Regions from separate parts of the Homo sapiens genome. Here regions 1 and 2 are each linked to region 3. The links are contacts of gene promoters, found by promoter capture Hi-C in human tissues and cell types (Jung and others, 2019). All regions are on one chromosome and are shown on one strand. Each heading gives the region's core, a stretch centred on a gene start or on the middle of the fragment in contact. The rest is flanking DNA. Distances are from core to core; before and after follow the strand shown.

What was found. Contacts are between HindIII fragments. The study calls those that stand out against the background at their distance.
Region 1: a contact is called between a fragment that was not itself captured here and the fragment with the promoter of CTDP1 in region 3, in 2 of the 25 tissues and cell types used here (dorsolateral prefrontal cortex and lymphoblastoid cells).
Region 2: a fragment that was not itself captured here is called in contact with the fragment with the promoter of CTDP1 in region 3 in 2 of the 25 tissues and cell types used here (dorsolateral prefrontal cortex and spleen).

What each region holds. Positions count from the first base shown.
Region 1 is chr18:79,028,918-79,032,142 of GRCh38, reverse strand. The region is part of intron 1 of LOC105372225 (a long non-coding RNA gene); the gene reads left to right. Among named protein-coding and RNA genes, the nearest start is that of ATP9B, 39 kb to the left of the region's middle. The HindIII fragment of the contact is 7,608 bases long and covers 1-3,225 here.
Region 2 is chr18:79,109,359-79,112,787 of GRCh38, reverse strand. It overlaps ATP9B (ATPase phospholipid transporting 9B (putative)), which reads right to left. Exons shown (of 30, transcript NM_198531.5): 3 at 2,283-2,433. Among named protein-coding and RNA genes, the nearest start is that of ATP9B, 42 kb to the right of the region's middle. The HindIII fragment of the contact is 7,074 bases long and covers 1-3,429 here.
Region 3 is chr18:79,677,873-79,681,380 of GRCh38, reverse strand. CTDP1 (CTD phosphatase subunit 1) reads right to left here and starts at 1,578. Exons shown (of 13, transcript NM_004715.5): 1 at 1,120-1,578. The coding sequence starts at 1,433. CTDP1-DT (CTDP1 divergent transcript) reads left to right here and starts at 1,636. Exons shown (of 5, transcript NR_136643.1): 1 at 1,636-1,987. RefSeq lists enhancers at 1,437-1,945, 1,946-2,453. The HindIII fragment of the contact is 29,025 bases long and covers 1-3,508 here.

The DNA.
Region 1 (3,225 bases), core at 35-2,534, 650 kb after region 3:
CCCCCTTGCTGTTCCTGTGATGGTGAGTGAGTTCTCGTGAGATCTGGTTGTTGAAAAGTGTGTGGCACCTCCCGCTTCACTCTCTTCCTCCTTCTCCGGCCATGTGAAGACATGCCGGCTTCTTCTTTGCCTTCCGCCATGACTGTAAGTTTCCTGAGGCCTCCCCAGCCATGATTCCTGTACAGTCTGAGGAACCATGAGCCAGTTAAACCTCTTTTCTTCATAAATTACCCAGTTTCAGGTGGTTCTTCATAGCAGTGAGAGCACGGACTAATACAGTTGTCTACCCAACCCTCTGGCCCAGGGCTGGAGCTGGGGCATGAGACAACAGTCTTTGCCTTGAAACAGAAATGTTGACCTTTGTCAGCCCTGTGGCCAAAGTGGAAATTTCAGACCATGTGGGAATCGCAGGATTTGTCCTCCATCCGTGCATCATATTTTATTATGTTGGCAAAAATTATTTGTGCACTAACCAAATACTTGGTTACGTGTGCCTGGTTAATAAAGACTCATTACATTATAAATGGTGGATGTTAAAGAGATGTACTGGCCGGGCACAGTGGCTCACTTGTGTAATCCCAGCACTTTGGGAGGCCGAGGCAGGCGGATCACGAGGTCAGGAGTTAGAGACCAGCCTGACCAACATAGTGAAACCCCATCTCTACTAAAAATACAAAAATTAGCTGGGTCTGGTGGTGCATGCCTGTTATCCCAGCTACTCAGGAGGCGGAAGGCAGGAGAATCGCTTGAATCCAGGAGGCGGAGGTTGCAGTGAGCCAAGATCGTGCCACTGCACTCCAGCCTGGGCAACAGAGTGAGACTCCATTTCAAAAAAAAAAAAAAAGTAATCGTGAAACCTGCTTTTGTCAATCTTGATTATGTTGATTAAAGTATGAAAATTGGGCTCTTCCTATGATGTCAACAAATAATTGTTCAGGAATGCGAAATGTGGGCAACTAGGCACACATTCTTTTCACACTGGCTCTCAGCCACCTAGGAATATGAGGATGTGGCTGTTGGGACAACTAAACAGAAGATGACTTGTGTTTCCTTCAGAAGGTCCCAGACACAGCCATGGGATTTAAAAGTTGAAGAGATCATCACATTCTCACCCATCTCATTTCATAATTTTATGTAGGCTGAGGCGTGAAGTGAGGGGGCACCATTGCTTGAGTGAGAAGCATTTGCTGAAGATCCGTCAGACCCAGCAAGTGGCAGACCACAGCCTACATGCCTGCACGTGCTCACCGTGCACATTCCAGGACAGCACTGTCAGCAGAGAGCACCTGCGGACTCAGCTGCGGCTCTCCTGCCTCCCTCTACACACTCGTCAACGCCACTGCCTCAGCCCCCAGAGACAAGTGTCAGTCGCCCAGAGATCATTCCAACCAGCCCTGCCAGGCATTATTTTCACATCACAGCTCACTTTTCTGAATTCCAAGTCCCAGTTTTGTTTCTCTCAGGTCTGTTATCCTGTGGGCCTTTACTAATTTATGTGGTTGAATTATAGGATTGGAAGGAATGAACATGAAAGAAATTCAAGCTCTACGATTTCTATGGAAAAATTGAATTATGGCAAAATTTACAACTTTCGTGTTTTAAAGGTCGCTATTGAGAAAGCAAAAACACAACCCACAGAATGGAAAAAGAAATATTTGAAAACCATATGTCTAACAAGGGATTTGCATCTAGAAAATATAAAGAACCCTACAACTCACTAATAAGAAGATAAATGACCCAAATAACAAACGGGCAAAAGACTTGAATAGACATTTGTCCAAAGAAGATGTGGAAATGGTCAACATGCACATGAGAGGATGCTCAACATTGGCCATTAGGAAAATGCCAATCAAAGTCATAATGAGGCAACAGTTTACACTCATCAGGATGACTACAGTGAGAAAGACAGACAATAACAAGTGTTGGCAAAGATGGAGAGAAATTGGAACTCACATATACTGCTGGTGGGAATGCAAAATGGTGCCTTTGCTTTGGAAAGCAGTCTGGCAGTTCCTTAAAGGGTGAAATGTAGACATCATTTAACATACCTATTCCACCCCTTGGGATATACCCATGAGAAAAGAAATATGTCCACACGAAAACTTGTACATGAATATGTATAGAAGCATTAGTAATAATAATCAAAAGGTGAAAACAACCCAAATGTTCATCCTGATGAATGGGTTACAAAATGTGGTATATCCACATAGTGGAATGTTACTCACCATGAAAAGGAATGAGGCACTGGTACCTGCTACAATGCAGACAAAACTTATGCTGAGTAAAAGAAGCCAGTCGTGAAAGGCCTTGTATTGTATGGATTTATTTGTATAATATTTCCAGAATAGGCAAATCCAAAGAAACAAAGAGCAGATTGGTGGGTGCTTAGGCATGGGGATTTTGTAGAATTCCATTTGGATTTATCTGTAATGTTTTGAGTGTATCTCTTTGTATAGCTTGTTTGGTGACAGCTCTAGGTATTACATTATATATGTCTAGTGATCACAGTCTATTGGTGTTCTCATTTTACCAGTTCAGTTGGAGTATAGCAATCTTATCTCCCAGTAGTACATTCCTTTATTTTCTTATTTTTATTTTTTATATTTTTGAGACGGAGTCCTGCTCTGTTGCCCAGGCTGGAGTGCAGTGGCATGATCTCAGCTCACTGCAACCTCCACCTCCTGGGTTCAAGCAATTCTATGCTTCAGCCTCCCAAGTAGCTGGGATTACAGGTGCCCACCACCACACCCAGCTAATTTTTGTATTTAGTAGAGATGGGGTTTCACCATCTTGGCCAGCCTGGTCTTGAACTCCTGACCTTGTGATCTGCTCACCTTGGCCTCCCAAAGTGCTGGGATTACAAGCATGAGCCACTGTGCCCGGCCATCCCTTTATTTTATTTTTATTTATTTATTTATTTATTTTTGAGATGGAGTCTCACTCTGTCACCCAGGCTGGAGTGCAGTGGCACAATCTTGGCTCACTGCAACCTCTGCCTCCCAGGTTCAGGGGATTCTCCTGCCTCAGCCTCCCAAGTAGCTGGGATTACAGGCACCCACCCACACCCAGCTAATTTTTGTATTTTTAGTAGAGATGGGGTTTCACCATGTTAGCCAGGCTGGTCTTGAACTCCTGACCTCAAGTGATCCACCCACCTGGGCCTCCCAAAGTGCTGGGATTACACAAGTGAGCCGCCATGCCCGGCCAGTACTTCTCTTTAACATC
Region 2 (3,429 bases), core at 384-2,883, 570 kb after region 3:
TATGAAATGGTAAAAAACAAATAAATAGCCACTTTTTTTTTTTAACACGGACATCCAGGTAGCTTTACAAAGACTGAATGAACAAGCCAAACGTGAACAGGTGTAACTTCACGAGATAGACTGCCTTAATCTCTTGTGGGTATTTACTTCCCTCAAAACATTAAAAATGATAAAATATAAGAAGTTGTAATTGCAGACCAGTTTTCAAGAAGACAGCTACCCAGCTACTCTTATGGTCTTTGGGTAGTTAATTCTTAATAATATTTTCAAATATAAAAGAAATTTCATCATTCAATAAAATTTTAGGAATGTCAATACTGAAAGGTTTTGGTTTTGGTTTTCACTTTAAATAGTTATCTTTAGAGAAGAAAACCCAAGATCTAACATATTAATAGATCTCAATTTACAAACGCCTCTAATTATTAGATTTACATTGAAAATCAAAATGGAACAAAACTTACGTTTACAGATGAGAATAATTCAAACAGCACACTACAATTAAATCAAACTTGCAAACCTGCAACTTACAAATCACAATCTCTTTGGATGCCATTTCCATGCCACTTAGAAGGTATGAAAATTTCACCAAGCAGGGCAATGGGTTAAGTGCTTATTGCTCAACTAGAGAGTCTGCAACTTGTTTTCAGAAAATGAGGTTATCTGCATCATCATACGGCAATGTGTGGGACTCAAAATCAGTTACACTGACAATATATTTATGTTCATAATCACGTTCAACCTGCTGTCTAAGAATGTTTTGAATTATTTCATAAATTAATCTCAGCAGGAAATAAAGTGCTTTTTCCTTAGTGATTTCTTTAAAATCTCAGCATAAATTATATCTATTAGCAACTTAGAAATTGCCATTCGTGGTAAAAATGACATAGAACTCCTACTGGGTAATTACCAAATGTTTCTAAAATACTACATTTTAGATGAAAAGACTAATTTCAGAGACGATCTAAGATAAAAAACTCATACACATGGTAATCATCATACAGTCACATCCACAGGTATTTTCAGCATGCGGCCAATCTGGGCAGGCTGTGTGGACTTACACTGATCAAAGTTAAGCTGCACTGCTGGCTTTAAACGACTGCAATCAATACTCTACAGTCTACTGACTGAACCTGCTGACCTTTAGGAAAACGTACACTGCTTAGCCAATCTCTGAGATCTGTGAGTATTTAATAATTTAAACCTAAGCAGAAAACAGTGGCTTCATTCAATAAAGATGCGAATATTTATCTGCCTGTAAGACAGTTTACATTTTATTATCCTGACAAAAGGTCTGTCTTTTAATTATGAAGCCATTAGTTTTGTGGGTTTTAATAAAGAAGTGCATTAGATATCAAGTATTTGCCAATCACTAGGTGGATGGGGATGAGGTGGGGGTGGGAGTAAAATCAATGCCAAATACAATGTCAGCATGATTATTTAAATTAAATATACAAGATAAAGCAACCCACATTCCATGTAATCAAGAGCTTTTCTTGCAAATAAAAGACATAAAACATGCCAAAAACTTTGATATAGAAATATAATCAATACCAGCTTCCTTTTCCTTTAGAAAGATAAATAAATCTATTAAAATAAGGAATGACATACAAAACACAAAAATTATTCAACTATTCTAATTGTATATGAACTGTTTTATAATTTAAGCCAGTAATATCACTAGCAACAAAAGTAATAAAATATTTAAACTACAGTATTTAAATTTAGCAATAATACCCAATTAAAGATAACTAACGATATAACAATATAAGAAGGTCTGAGATTTATAATGTGAAGTAGCAAAGACATCTATATATAAATATGCATATTACAGATACTTTGTTACTGTATCATTTCAGTATAAAAAATTGTTTCATTTTCTTTGCGAAATCTCTTGGCAGGGTTTAAACATTACATTTACTGTTTTCTCCAAACTAGTTCCCAGACAAACAAAACGTATAACTTGTTTTCTGTTAATTTTATTTACTTTTACTTCATTATGTCTATATTTCTAAAATAATATAAATATGATGTTTATCAAGAACTGAAGGCAATAATCAAATTGTACATTTTCTTGAGCTGAACTCTATGATGTAGCCATTAAAAATACATATGAATTATTTAGCGATTATTGGGAACACAGATGGTTCAAAAGCAAAAGGACACTGATTTGGATGTGACACAACTCAATACCTAAGTCAGAGTCTCAACAGGCTCCATCCTATAGCAAAGGAAGCCAGCAATCTCTGACACACAACCCATCTCCAAGAATGCAATAGTCTTACCCCAGGTATAAAGGTAAACACATTGTATTTTTGATTTTTTATAGAATTCCTGGGATGTTTTTCTTCACACTTTTCAGGACATCCAAGCCATACTGTGCGAGCTTTCAGCTCTTTCTTTCTTCGACAAATATTTATCAGCCAACCACAGCAACTGTATGAAACAAAAGATACGTATTGTGTATTTTTTTTTGCTTTTTAAAAAAGTTCAAACTAATTGTACATATTTAGAGTCAATATTGATTGTTTCTGTATTCACCACACACTAATAGCACACCTAATGCTAATTTGTGGGGTTTTTCTTATAATAGGTTGGTTACACAAATTTAAATTTGACATAAAATACAAAGTCTTATATAAATGTACCCCAGGGGAATTATCTTTCTGTTTAGACACTCTTATTGGCAAAATAAAACCATTAATATTCTGAAGCAGTCAATGCTCTATATGTCGAGAAAAGGTATAGCTATAGCTATAGGTTACCTACTGGTAATTCCCAATACACTTTTCAATGATAAAGGTCCTTGGATTTCAATTAATCCAGGATGTGGCTCATTCTCTGAAGTAATAATCACTTTTTCCACTCTTAAAAAATGACTTTTCCAGTAGTATTAACTAATGCAATATTAAGACTTACAGCTCAGGCCAGGCGTGGTGGCTCACATCGGTAATCCCAGCACTTTGGGAGGCCGAGGCAGGCGGATCACCTGAGGTTAGGAGTTCAAGACCAGCCTGGCCAATGTGGTAAAACCCCGTCTCTACTAAAAATACAAAAATTAGCCAGCCATGGTGGCAGGCACCTGTAATCCCAGCTACTCAGGAGGCTGAGGCAGGAGAATAGCTTGAACCCGGGAGGCAGAGATTGCAGTGAGCCAAGACAATGCCACTGCACTTCAGCCTGGGCGAAAGAGTGAGTCTCCATCTTAAAAAAAAAAAAAAAAAAAGACAGCTCAATCCAATATTTAAAGAGGATACAAATGTTTCCTGTGATATTCTAATGATAATAAAAGCTTGACTGTATTTCCACATAGCTCTCTTCATCTATGCAGTAAATATTTTAATTTTACATTTACCCTGTTCCAATAGTGTCTGGGTTTCAGGAGCACAACTCTTCCCCTTCTTGGTCATCCAAACCATTATTTTGGGGTAG
Region 3 (3,508 bases), core at 329-2,828:
GCCAGTGCCCACTGAGGAAGCCGTGAAGGCATTTTCTGGGAGGCAAGGCCCTGAACCTCCCAGCCCCACCCACCAGCACGCAGGGGGCAGGAGTGAGTGCCCGTGCCGAGGGTCAAGGACCCAGGCTCTGTCTCCAAAGGAAGCGGAGCCAGGACGTTCTGGGGCTGTGACGGGAAGACTCCTGTCCCAGTCCTCACTCTTGCGGAACCAGATGCAGAGAAGATCCTCAACAAACACAGGGTCAGGGCAAGCCAAAGGGACGAGGAGCCGCGGCTGCCGAGGAGGGAAGAGAGTGGCATCCCCAGAAGGAGCGGCACCTTTCCCAGAGGGAGCTCACGCCCGGCCCACTGCGGGCTGGAGTGTCCACCTCTCCCTGGAGTTTCTGTTCTCACAATCAAAACTACCAGAGCCAGGCGCACACGCGTGTCCACTTGCCCGCCCATCCCAGAACACAAGGGTAGATTCAAACATGGCTGGACACTTCGGTGCTACGGAAACATATCCCCTTCTGGGGTCAGAGCACAGCTACTGAGAGCTGTGGAGTCTGTCACAACGCCCACGTCACCCTGAAGCAGCCTGCGACAATGCCCACTGTGGTCAACCACGGGGCTACTGCCTTCGCTGCAGGCCTGGGTTCCGCCCGTTCCTTAGCCACGAAACAGAACTGCACCAGGTTTTACAACTGCGTTTCACAAAGTTTACAAAAATTTAAAGATGTGCACACACCCAACAGTTTATATTTCAATAACAGGTCTGGAGCCTGCCTGATGACTCTTGTGCTCACAGCCACCCATGAGTTTTCCTAAGTCACAAAGGTGGAGCTAAAGGAAGGGGCGGGGACTATCACTGCAGAAAGAAAGAAACAAACATAGCTTTTCCAAACAGTAACTTCGTGTCGCTACGCAGGACCCTTTCCTTTTATCTCAAAATGCTCCCCGTTGGTAAAACCACAGGTGGTGACTATCCAGTTTTAGGGGAGAAGCGCAGTGCCTGCGTCCCGCTTTATCGCTCCCTCACCAGGGGCGCCCCTGCCCACCGCGGACGCAGCAGCCCGGGGGTCCTCCAGGATCCCTCCCCGGAGCCGCCCGCCCTCGGCCCCGCCCGGCTCAGCACACTCACCCTGGGGCGACCACCTGGCCCGGCTGCGCGCACAGCTCCCGCACCACGCCCGCGCGCTCCGACCTCAGCCTGCGTTCCGGCCGCGCGGGGCGCACGCAGCCCCCGGAGGCTACACGGGACTGAGAGGCCCCGGAGGACTGCGCGGAGGCGGCGGCCTCGAACACGGCCAGCACCGAGCCGATGCGCACGGCCGCGCCCGCCGCCACCCTCCACTCCAGCAGGCGCAGCGGCGCGGGCCCCGGGCAGCGCACCTCGGCCACAGCCGCCGTCGGGGCGCCCTCGGCAGGAACGCGACCCGCGGCCGGCACCTCCATCGCGGACAGAGGGCGGGCGGGCGGTCGGTACGGGGCCTGCGCTGCGCTCAGAGCGCAGCGCCTACCGCGGCGACACAACCCAGGCGGCGACGCTGTAGTTCCTCTCGGTACCGGCTTCCACCCGTCGCCTAGCCCGCGCCGACTTCCTGGAGGGCGCGTGACGTCACGCAAGGGCGCCGCGTACGTGCGTACGTGCGCGTGTAAATACGAGCGCCGCGCGGGGCCGGAGCCGGCTCCGTCCTGGGACCAACCCTGCGTGCCGGCCGTGAAGAACTGCGTTCCTGAGCCCTACCTACTTTTCCTCGGAGCGCCGGCACCGTGGAGCAGCGGCATGCAACGCGGGCCGCTGTCGCCCAGTCCCAGTGACGGTCTTGGCGCGCTCGGAACTACGTATCCCGGCGTGCACCGCGGACAGAGCATGGCGGGACTACGAGTCCCAGCGTTCAACGCAGGCCTGCGTGCCATTACCCCATCACGCGCTGAGACCCAGCATCCCGAGACTACGAGTTCCGGCATGCACCGCGAGCCGCTCTCCTCCACTCCCATCGCGCACTGTGAGTCGCAACGTCGCGGGACTACGGGTCCCGGCATGCCTTGCGCGCCGCGGGCCCAGAGACGTGAGGCTGTCGGCGTCCTGGTGGCCCCGCCTCGTGTCCCCCCCCGGACCCCACGCCGCGGGAGCTTGGGGGTTGCGGTCTTCTCTTCCTCCGACCTCACCTTCGATGCGGAAGCGCAGGGGCAGGTGCGCCGCCCTCGGCCCGCGCAGGCGGTGGGCCCGTCTGGGGCAAGGCGCCCGGAAGCGCCTGGTTGGTTCAGAAAATCGGACCGCAGCGGGAGGGCGGGCACCGGCGCGTGGTCTCAGTGGCCCCAGGCGAACCCTGATGAGCAGCAGCCGCAAGTGGCTTACTAAAGGAGCCACTTTCTACGTTTGTCTGGAATTTACGTGAATTAAGCTGGCGGGCGGGCGGCCAGGCCTGTAGTCTCAGCACTTTGGGAGGCTCAGCACTTCGGGAGGCTGTGGCGGGCGGATCACCTGAGCCTGGGAGTTGGAGACCAGCCTGCGCAACGTAGCAAGACCCTATCTCTAAAACAGATTCATTAATACTTAGCCAGGCGCGGTGGCTGAGGTCCCAGCTACTCGGCAGGCCCAGGCTGGCCTGAGCCAGACCGCTCTGGACTGTTTTAATTTTTTCAGCCTTAATACCTGCCAGAATTTTTTTTTTACTATGTATCTTTGTCCTTACGTATATAAATTTTATATACAATTGAGATTATCCTGTATTTGCTTTTCCCCCCTCACTTTTATATGGTGACTTTTCTCATGTTAGGCTGAATACTAACATTTTGGAAACTGTCGGCCTGAAAACGAGCGGAGACACAGTTTCTCTAAGTAGAGAGTTTATTTGGGCCACACTTGAGCACAAATTCAAGGCGCCCTGAATGTGTACTCCGATTAGCAGTTAACAGTGGATTTTAAAGGCAAAAAAGGGGGCCAGGGAGTGGACTAATAGGAACTTGTTTGTGAGGAATTCTCACTGGTTTACAGAAATAACATTGATTAGTGACTGACTATATGTTGTTCAGCTATTGAGTGTGGGTATAGTGTCCATTGTGGCGTCATTAGGTTAATTTATAGCTGTTTGTGGCGCTGTTGCCACCAGTAGCAGTTTAAAGAGGTGAACACAGGTCAAGGGGTAGTAGGGCGCGATTGTCGCCTCATTTGAATGTCTCTCTCGGCCTGATAATTAAAAGAACTCGCGTTCCTCAGATAAAAATTCTCTTTTCTCAAAACCATTTAAATGTGGTAATTAGAATGGCCCAGAAGGGGCACAGTGCCTTTTAGCCCTCGCCATTACTTGCTCTTAGGAGTGCATTTTTTGTAGCTGTGGGTTTTTGACTATCTCTGCTGCTTTCTCCAGCCCCTACCCTCGTGACTACAAGGGAAAACGTGCGGTGCTCACGAGAGAGCCTTTATGGGATTTTTAAAAAATGGGGATTGTGGGAAAATGGCTCCAGCAGTCACAGTTTTTCAGTTTCTCACAATCCCATAAAAACAGAGCAACCAGGTAACAAAA